Linked DNA regions of Homo sapiens: regions 2 and 3 are each linked to region 1. Evidence: promoter capture Hi-C in 16 types of primary human blood cells and fetal thymus (Javierre and others, 2016). All regions are on one chromosome and are shown on one strand. The core of a region is centred on a gene start or on the middle of the fragment in contact, and the rest is flanking DNA. Distances in the headings are between cores, read along the strand shown.

Region 1 (2,888 bases), core at 273-2,772:
TGCACGAGATTAACACATTCTGAGGTCCTACCGGTCCCTTAAGGATCATTCCCCTTAAAGCTAGGGCCTCCTGCATCTGAGAATGTCACAGAGAGGTAGTGATGATAGTGGGTGTTATTTCTGATCTGTAACACGCTCCCTTTAAAAAAGCATCAGAGTAACTAGGATTGCCTTGTTCGGAGCCCTGATTTCAGTAGATTCGATGAAAGAATTAATCAATCTACCCAAATAACTTCTCCGGAATAGGTTTCTACTCAGCCACGCTGGGCACCAGACAAGAGAGCTGGGGGTTGGGGGGGATAAGAAATGACAACACGCTCATCTGCATAGATGCCAGATAAGCAGACATTTGTTTTCTTCTGTTCTGGCGACTCCTGGCACCGGCATAGTAAATCAAACCCGGGCATTCTCCCTCCCCAGTGCCCCTACACTCCCAGCCCCTGCCCCAGATGTTGAAGCGTCACGTTGACCAGGCTGGGGGAGAAAGCCTGGGAAACGCAGAAGTCTGTTGCTGCATTTAGACTGGAACCATACCGCACCTGTTCAATCCGGCACCAGCGCCAGAAATGAGCAGAACACCAACTCGCAAGCCCCTCTTGAGATACCAGGGCGCCTAACAAGTTCACCGCTGTTTCGTACCGGGGGAGGGTGGTGGGAGACCTTTCCTTCCGCTGCCAAACTCTGCAGGTTCCCCGGAAAAGGGGAGAGTACTCCTATTTAAGTGAACCCAGAGTGATCTCCGAGTGTCACTGCGGCCCCGGGGATCCGGGTGACGAGCGGGTGGGTGTCCGTTGGGAGCGCGCAGCTGTGGCCCCCGCGGAACGAAGGTCCGCTTCGGTGGCCACGGGCGCCCTCTCCACGTCACCCCCAGCACAACGCAGACAGGCAAAGTGGAAGGGTAGAGAGACCGACGGGTTTCAGCAGAGATGCAGAGCCCCTAAGCGCAAGCCCCTCAGAAGGGTCTAGTGGGAAGGGGCCGGGGACGCACAGGAAACTTACCTCACCCGGGCAGCATTCGGGTGCCTCCGCTACCAAGACCAGTTGCGCCACAGTCTGCAAGTTATCGGGACGTTGTCGCTTCCCCACAGCGAAGGGAGAGCAGTGCAGGCGAGGGGCGGGAGGGGCGGGAGGGGCGGGAGGGCGGAGGGGGCGGCGGGCGGGGCCGGGGCCGGGGGCAACGCTGAGGGCGGGCAGGTGCCGGGGCTGGAGCCGCGGGGCCAAACTCGCTCCGGACGCGCCTTGGCGGGGGCGCGCGGCTACGAGTGTGCAGTGCGCGCGCGCCGCGGCGAGTGTGTGTGTCCCCGCTTTCCCCTTCCTTCCCCGCCGGTCCTCCGGCCAGACGGAGCAGCGAGCGGCCGCCAAAGCCCAGCAGCTCCGAGCGGCTCCACTGCCGGGCGCAGCCTCGCCGCGGCGCGTTCGGGGACCGGGAACCGGGGACCGAGAGGAGCAGCAGCGGCGCCCGCCGGGCTCGGGCGCGGGTTCCCGCTTGGTGCGCGCCGGAGTCGGAGCGAGGCGCAGAGAGAGCCGGCTGCGCGGCGGCTGCCGCGGCTGGGGAGGCTGCAGGCCCCGCCTGCCGGCCGCCCAGGCTCTTCCCCTTTTCTCTCCACCCACTTGCCCCATCCCCGCAAGCCCTGCAGCGAAGGCAGACCGGTTTGCAGCACCTGCCGCAACAGCGGCCGGAGCTTCAGCCGCAGTGGGCTGGGCGTCTCAGCCGGTGTGTGGGGACCGGGCGCCTGTCCCGCCGCCGCTGGCCCAGACTGAGAGCGGGGTTGGGGTGGGCCCCTGGAATTGGCGGGTGCCTCCAAGACTCCAGGGGTTCCCGGCCGTTCTCAGCGTCTTGAAGCCCTGCGAAACAGGGCTGTGGGGATAGGGCGTCCCCTTTCCCCAGGCCACAGAACTCAGCTACGCCTGGTCGCCCGCCTGCTAGACTCTGCCTGAGGCGGCGAAGCCGGCACTTGAGCGCAGGCGCCCCCTTCACGAGGAAGGGACAGGCCAGGATTCCAAGGCGTTGGTTGCTCCCATTCTAAGGACAGCAGGTGTTCCCAGCAAGTAAGACCTACCCAACAGGTAGGGGTAGGCTGGCGAGGAGGTCCTAGGAGAGAGAAGCTGGGGGATGTCATGGGAAAGCGCTGTGACGGGGCTGAGGGCCAATTCCTACTGATAGCGCTTAGTGGGCTGGGGGCACTTGCAACGTCACCTGATGTCAGTCTAGCTGCGAAGAGGGTAGGGGTCAGATCTAAAGGACTCCTTTGGGAAAATGCTATCATGAAAGCTAAAGCTAAATTCACTTAATAGGAACCAAAAGGTAGCGGATCCTTCGCGGCTGAATTGAAGCAAATGGTATTTTTCAGCCTCATCACTTCCTTCCACTTACCCTTCTTTACCAAAAACAACGCCGGTGGAAAACGTGGGATACATTCTGTCTGGGGAATAACAACATTTCATGATCCTTATCTTCAGAGATCTCTGGCTTCCAGTTTCTGTTTGAAGGATACTCCCTTAGTTCTCTGCAAATGAACACCTCTTTTCAGTTTTGTAATCTCTTTGTTTCTCTCACCCCCCACCTTGAGTGAGTCTGCTATGGTTTAATATCAGCCTTGAATCAAGTGCAATAATTTCTTGATAACAGAAGTATCTATTTTTTTTTAGCTTTACTGAGCCATAATTGACAAATAAAACAAATATCTGTTATTCTTCAGCTGTTTTCCCAGCCTGCTTCTTGCAGATGTGGCTGGCCATTACTGAGAGATTTAAGGTATGGTTTGTTTAGAACCCTGTGACTTGGGTCTGGTTTTCTCCTGGCATCCTAGACGCTTCACAGCTCAGAGCAGGAGGAACATACATCTAGTCCAGCCCTCCCGCTTTACAGATGAGGAAACTAAGGTCTC
Region 2 (2,888 bases), core at 99-2,598, 61 kb before region 1:
CTGGAGTGCAGTGGCGCAGTCTCGGCTCACTGCAGCTTCCACCTCCCAGGTTCAAGCGATTCCCCTGCCTCAGCCTCCCGAATAGATGGGATTACAGGTGTGCACCACCACACCTGGCTAATTTTTGTATTTTTAGTAGAGACGCGGTTTCACCATGTTGGTCAGGCTGGTCTCGAACTCCTGACCTTAAGTGATCCACCCGCCTCGGCCTCCCAAAGTGCTGGGATTACAGGCGTGAGCCACAGCGCCCGGACTGCATTGCTAAATTCTATCTGATGGTATTTTATGAAAGGGTTTTGCATCAAGATTGATCTGCAGTGTGTGCACATACAGGCACATGCCCATGCCAGCTATCTTTGTGAAGTTTTGGTACTAAGATCATTTTGGTATCTTAAAAAATCTTGAAAGTCTGTCTTTTGCTCTATACTTAGAAAAAGTTGAAATAGTAATGTGACCATCTGTCAGGTTTACATGGGGCATTCTAGTTTATACTGGTTCTCTCAATTAAAGCTCCCTTCAATAAACTATATAGTTACCCTACTTAATATCAATATCCCTGACTATTTGAAGAATTTACTTGGGCTATCTGGGGGCCTGCACTTTGAATTTAGAAAGCATCTTTTGATAACATTTTTATTTCTTTCATGGTTACTGACTCTCTCCTGGGACCACTTTAATAAAGTAAATTTTCCTAGAAATACCACTTACTTCACCTATCTCCATAGTGTTTCATGTAGTACCTAACAATATTTTTTGGTTACTTCTCCTTTTTGATATCTGATATTGTTGATTTTTTACCTTTGTTTTGGTAATAAAGAGATATTTATTTATTGTAAAAAAATTTAAAATACAGACACATAGAAAAAAATAGTTGAAAATTACCCACAATCCCATCACCCAGAAACAATTACTTTTGACACTGTAATAAAAAGCATTCCAGATTTTTATCTGTGTACATACCTACCTATCTACATAATGCAATGTTTATTAACTTGCCCTTTCCATATTTGTTGTGAACACTTTTTCCATATCAGTAAATATAGACTTACATCTTCAATTTCAATGGCTGTGAAGTATGGCTATTCCATGACCTTCTTATACATATTTCTAATAGGGGATAAGCAGGTAGGTTAATTTTTTTCAACTATTTTTAACAGTGCTGCATTGAACATTATATAAGATCTTTGTACGTTCATTTTGTTGGACAGATTATTCAAAGTAGAAGTGCTAAATCAAAGATAGATACATTTATAACAATAGTTTTTGCTTATAAGAGATGTATTTATTTCATATATAAAAAAAGCAGCAAAAAACAAAGTAAAAGTTTCCTGCAATCCATTATCCAGTGGTAGCCTCTGTTAACATTTTGTTATAGATATCCACCAAGTCTTAGTGCACATTCTTTTTTAACCATATTATACATACCAAGTTGTCACCTCCTTACCATATTATGCCATCTTTTCCTACACAATATCATTCTATATAGCTACAAGGTACTCAGTGGATAAAAGAGCCATAATTTGATTATCTACTAATGGAAATTTAAGGTGTTTCCAATATTTGAGATTAGAAACAATGCTATCATGAATATCATTGTCTTATTTTTTGGCCCCTTGTCCAATTACTTCCTAAGGTTAAATTTCCAGCAGTGGAACTGCTAGATCAGAGGATATGTATAGCAAGGCTTCTTGTAAACACATCACCCTTGAGAAAGTCTACATCAATTGTCATTCCCAACAGATCTGACAGTGCTTGTTCTCCACCTCTACTTCAACCTTGGTATGATCATTCTTCTTAGCCTTAGACTTAGATAACAAAAAGTGGCACTTTTTTAAGTTTGCATTTTCAAAAGTTACTAACAAATTGGATATTTTAATGTGCTTTTTGGCCCTTCTCAATAAATGGCAAATCACTTTCTCTAATCTATTAGTATCTCTCTAAACACAAAATAGCCATAATAAATTATATTTGTTTCTTAAAATCTTAGGTCCTATTTTGATGGAGAATTTATGTTAAAAGAAAAAAATGCATGCCTTGTACATTTAAAAATAGCTCTGGCACTTCTGCTTGGAACTTTGCTTTAATCCAACTCAGACAAGAGAACGACCATTTTCTCCATGTTGCATTAATAAAAATTTGTACTAGGCATCATTATGAAATATTTGCTAGAACACAGAATTCAGTACAGCACAGGTACACCCTCAAATTTTCAGTAAAGTATAAGCATTTTAATAAATATTTTATGACACAGTTTCATCTCCAACTGCTCCATGGAAAAGACCATTAAAATGTTACTAGTGGCAAGTTTTGTTTCATCACAATGCCAACATCTATAATGTTTGAAATATTAAAAATTAGAAGCACAGTTTTTCTCAGAGCTTTCGTTTTTAAATAAGCACCCATTATGAACAATTGTAACTGATTTCCTTTGGAGTAAAAACATGTAAACACTCACTTTTTTAAAAAAACAGTTAAGAACAAATGACCTGCAAGTGAATTCAAGATAATGAGCAGTGACTGTAGCATTCCATCAAAGCATTTTTGTTGAAATGCTTTAAAACAATATTCAGAATGCATGTTCTAAAAGGCAGGGAATTTACATGGGCCTTCTCCACTTTTTTTTAAAATAAAAATTAGTTTTATTTTAAAATTAGTTTTATTTAGCTTAAAATGCTTCAGTATTTTAAATAACCATCACTAAGGAAATCAAGGTAATTACAATTTCAAAATCAATTACAAAATCAATTTTTCTTTGCTACATTGATGTTTATGGTTAAGAGACCACAGAATGAAGGTGAGGACGAGGAAAGCTTTAGTTTATCACCTGTAACTAGCATAAATTCTTTGTCTTTGCTAGCATTATTACTTTTTGTTTTGACAAATTATTG
Region 3 (2,888 bases), core at 116-2,615, 55 kb after region 1:
CCTTTTCTTCAGGTTCTTAAATATTATATTTGCTGCATGACCAAAGGTCAAAGTTGCATCTATTTTTAGGTGATGAAATGATGACTATTGACTAACATTAGTAATCACTTTCTCCAACATTTCTGAAAAGGTTTCTATCTACTTTGTCATATTGCTTTGAAAATTAGTCCTTGAAAACCATAAAAAACATACTGAAGCCCTAAATAGAATGTTGCATTGTACAAACTCCTTCATAACCATGAGTCATTCCTCACAACAGTCCTGTGGGGTACGCCACATTCTTAATCATATTTCACAAATGGAGACAGTGAGGTAAAGAGAAAGCTGTGGCATAATGGGATCAACACAGATAAAGTGTACTGAGGGCCTCACATGAAATTCAAATAGTGTAGCTCCCATTTTGTAGATAAGAATCCTACTACAATGGGGATACACTTCTCACTCCATAATAGCAACCATCAGAGGCAAGAGGGATTATCATGGTAGCTTCAGTTCTCATCCCTCCATCTTTCTTAATAATTTTGCAGCATAAAAGTCCAACATGGTAGACCATCTGGCAAACTGGGACCTTCCTTAGATGGGGAAAGGAGAAGAAATGGGACAGTGGGGCCAGCATCCTCTTTGGTGTAAGACCTAGAAACACTTACATGCCTGATAATTTTCCCCCGACAGATTCACATGCACATATCTGAAAAGTATACCCACATGTTTGTAGTAAGAGCTGCATGAAGTTTTCTTTTTCTCCTCCTTTGAGAGACAGAGTCTTGCTCTGTTGCCCAGGCTGGAGTGCAATGGTGAGATCTCAGCTCACTGCAACCTCTGCCTCCCAGGTTCAAGCAATTCTCCTGCCTCAGCTTCCCAAGTAGCTGGGACTACAGGTGTGCATCACCACACCCAGCTAATTTTTGTATTTTTCAGTAGAGACAGGATTTCACTATATGTTGGCCAGGCTGCTCTTGAACTTCTGACCTCAGGTAATCCACCTGCCTCGGCCTCCCAAAGTGCTGGGATTACAGGCGTGAGTCACCGTGCCTGGCCTTCATGAAGTTTTCCTTGTCATTTAAACTCTCTGGGTATCTGTTTCCTCATATGTAAAAGGACCATGAAAAGTAGTGTTTATTTCCTAGAGTGGTCTTGAGGGTTAAATGAGATCATACTTGTAAAGCATTTAGGAATAGAGCATAGTACATGGCAAGGGCTGGAGGAATATTGTAGTTATTATTACTTAGTAGCAGTGGTCATCATACATGTGGTAGATAGAATTACTGTAAAAATACACCTTATACTAGCTTATAGGCAATACGCAATTCACCTTAAGCAGAGGCCTGTGATTAATGTAAGTAAATATTTGGATAGTAATGTTGGCAATGGGAAATGTAATAAAATTTTACACTTTCCTCTGTAAGAACTTCCTTATTCAAAACTGTGATAAAACAATACTTTTTGCCTATCTATTGAAACACCAGTATTATCATCTTTCTACCTAATTTAGTAACAACCAGCTTGTATCGAGTATTTACAATGCACTGGATACTCTGCTAAAAACTTAATAGTTTTACCTTCTTTAACTACAACAGTAACTGCAAAAGATAGGGGTTATTATAATTACCTTCAGTTTTTAGGTGAGGAGAGTGAGGCTTCAGAAAATTTCCTTAACAAGAATGATGAGGACATTTTTCAGCTGGGCGCGGTGGCTCATGCCTGTAATCCCAGCACTTTGGGAGGCCGAAGGGGACAGATCATCTGAGATTGGGAGTTTGAGACCAGCCTGACCAACATGGAAAAACCCTGTTTCTACTAAAAATACAAAATTAGCCAGGCATGGTGGCAGGCACCTGTAATCCCAGCTATTCAGGAGGCTGAGGCAAGAGAACTGCTTGAATCTGGGAGGCAGAAGTTGTGGTGAGTCGAGATTGTGCCATTGCACTCCAGCCTGGGCAACAAGAGCAAAACTCTGTTTAAAAAAAAAAAAAAAAAAAAAAGAATGAGGACATTTTTCTTTCTTTGTGTCTCTCTATTATCTATCCTAAAGATTTGTTGAATGGATGAAATGATAGTTAAACCTTACCAGTCTTTATTTTGGCCCTTAACCTTACATCCAAAACAGATTTCAAAATCAATTATGAAAACAGGCACAATCATATTTTAGGAATAAAACAATTTCCCCAAGCCATTTTAGGAAGAAAATGAGGATGAAAAGGTAAAACAACACAAGCATCTTGGTGGGACACAGCTGGGAGATACGCAGATTTTATGATTGGAAAGGGTTTCACAGGAGGGTGGATGGCTACGATCACAGAAGAAATCATCTCACCTTCCAAATCATCAGTAGGGATAAAGTGGAGCTGGAGATGCCATCCTGCTTTCTTCATGCTCTTTGTATTTCGAGGACTAGTGCTTTTTGGGCTGAGCTATTTGAGCTGCTGAGACAGAAACTGAAATGCAGGCTACCCATCAGCACACACAGCTGCTGCTATCATCCATAGTCTTGAGAGATGGGCAGGTTCAGAGGTCTGGGCAGGCCACACAACAACCAGGGCTTACCCACTAAGGTTAGATGACTTCTCTTCCTCATTACCCATAGGGTAATATGCAGTGGCTCAGTGGCTCTCAGGATAGTCACAACTCTACTGTGTTGCCCTTGGTAAGCTGGAAATTATACCCTTGTTGACATGCTCTGCAGGCTGCTGTTAAAAATGCCAAACAGCAAATTTATCCACTGCTAGGTTCTTAAAGAAACAGATTCTCTTTTCTTGAGGAGCCAATAAAACAGAGGTTCTCAAAGTGTGCCTGAACCAACAGCATTGACATCACCTGGGATCTTGTTAGAAATGCAAATCCTTTGACCCTATCCCAGACCTTCTGAATCAGAAACTCTAGGCCTCCTG

Evidence for each region. Contacts are between HindIII fragments. The CHiCAGO score rates a contact against its expected background, and 5 or more counts as called.
Region 2: a contact is called between a fragment that was not itself captured here and the fragment with the promoter of PIP5K1B in region 1, in 4 of 17 cell types (total B cells, naive B cells, erythroblasts and 1 more). The highest score is 12.3, in total B cells.
Region 3: a contact is called between a fragment that was not itself captured here and the fragment with the promoter of PIP5K1B in region 1, in 2 of 17 cell types (total B cells and naive B cells). The highest score is 10.9, in total B cells.

What each region holds. Positions count from the first base shown.
Region 1 is chr9:68,703,874-68,706,761 of GRCh38, reverse strand. PIP5K1B (phosphatidylinositol-4-phosphate 5-kinase type 1 beta) reads right to left here and starts at 1,522. Exons shown (of 16, transcript NM_003558.4): 1 at 1,000-1,522. RefSeq lists enhancers at 305-394, 1,083-2,008 and a silencer at 1,145-1,664. The HindIII fragment of the contact is 6,803 bases long and covers 1-2,888 here.
Region 2 is chr9:68,764,678-68,767,565 of GRCh38, reverse strand. All of the region lies in intron 2 of PIP5K1B (phosphatidylinositol-4-phosphate 5-kinase type 1 beta), which reads right to left. Among named protein-coding and RNA genes, the nearest start is that of PABIR1, 14 kb to the left of the region's middle. The HindIII fragment of the contact is 2,928 bases long and covers 1-2,812 here.
Region 3 is chr9:68,648,818-68,651,705 of GRCh38, reverse strand. No RefSeq gene overlaps it. Among named protein-coding and RNA genes, the nearest start is that of PIP5K1B, 55 kb to the left of the region's middle. The HindIII fragment of the contact is 5,031 bases long and covers 1-2,888 here.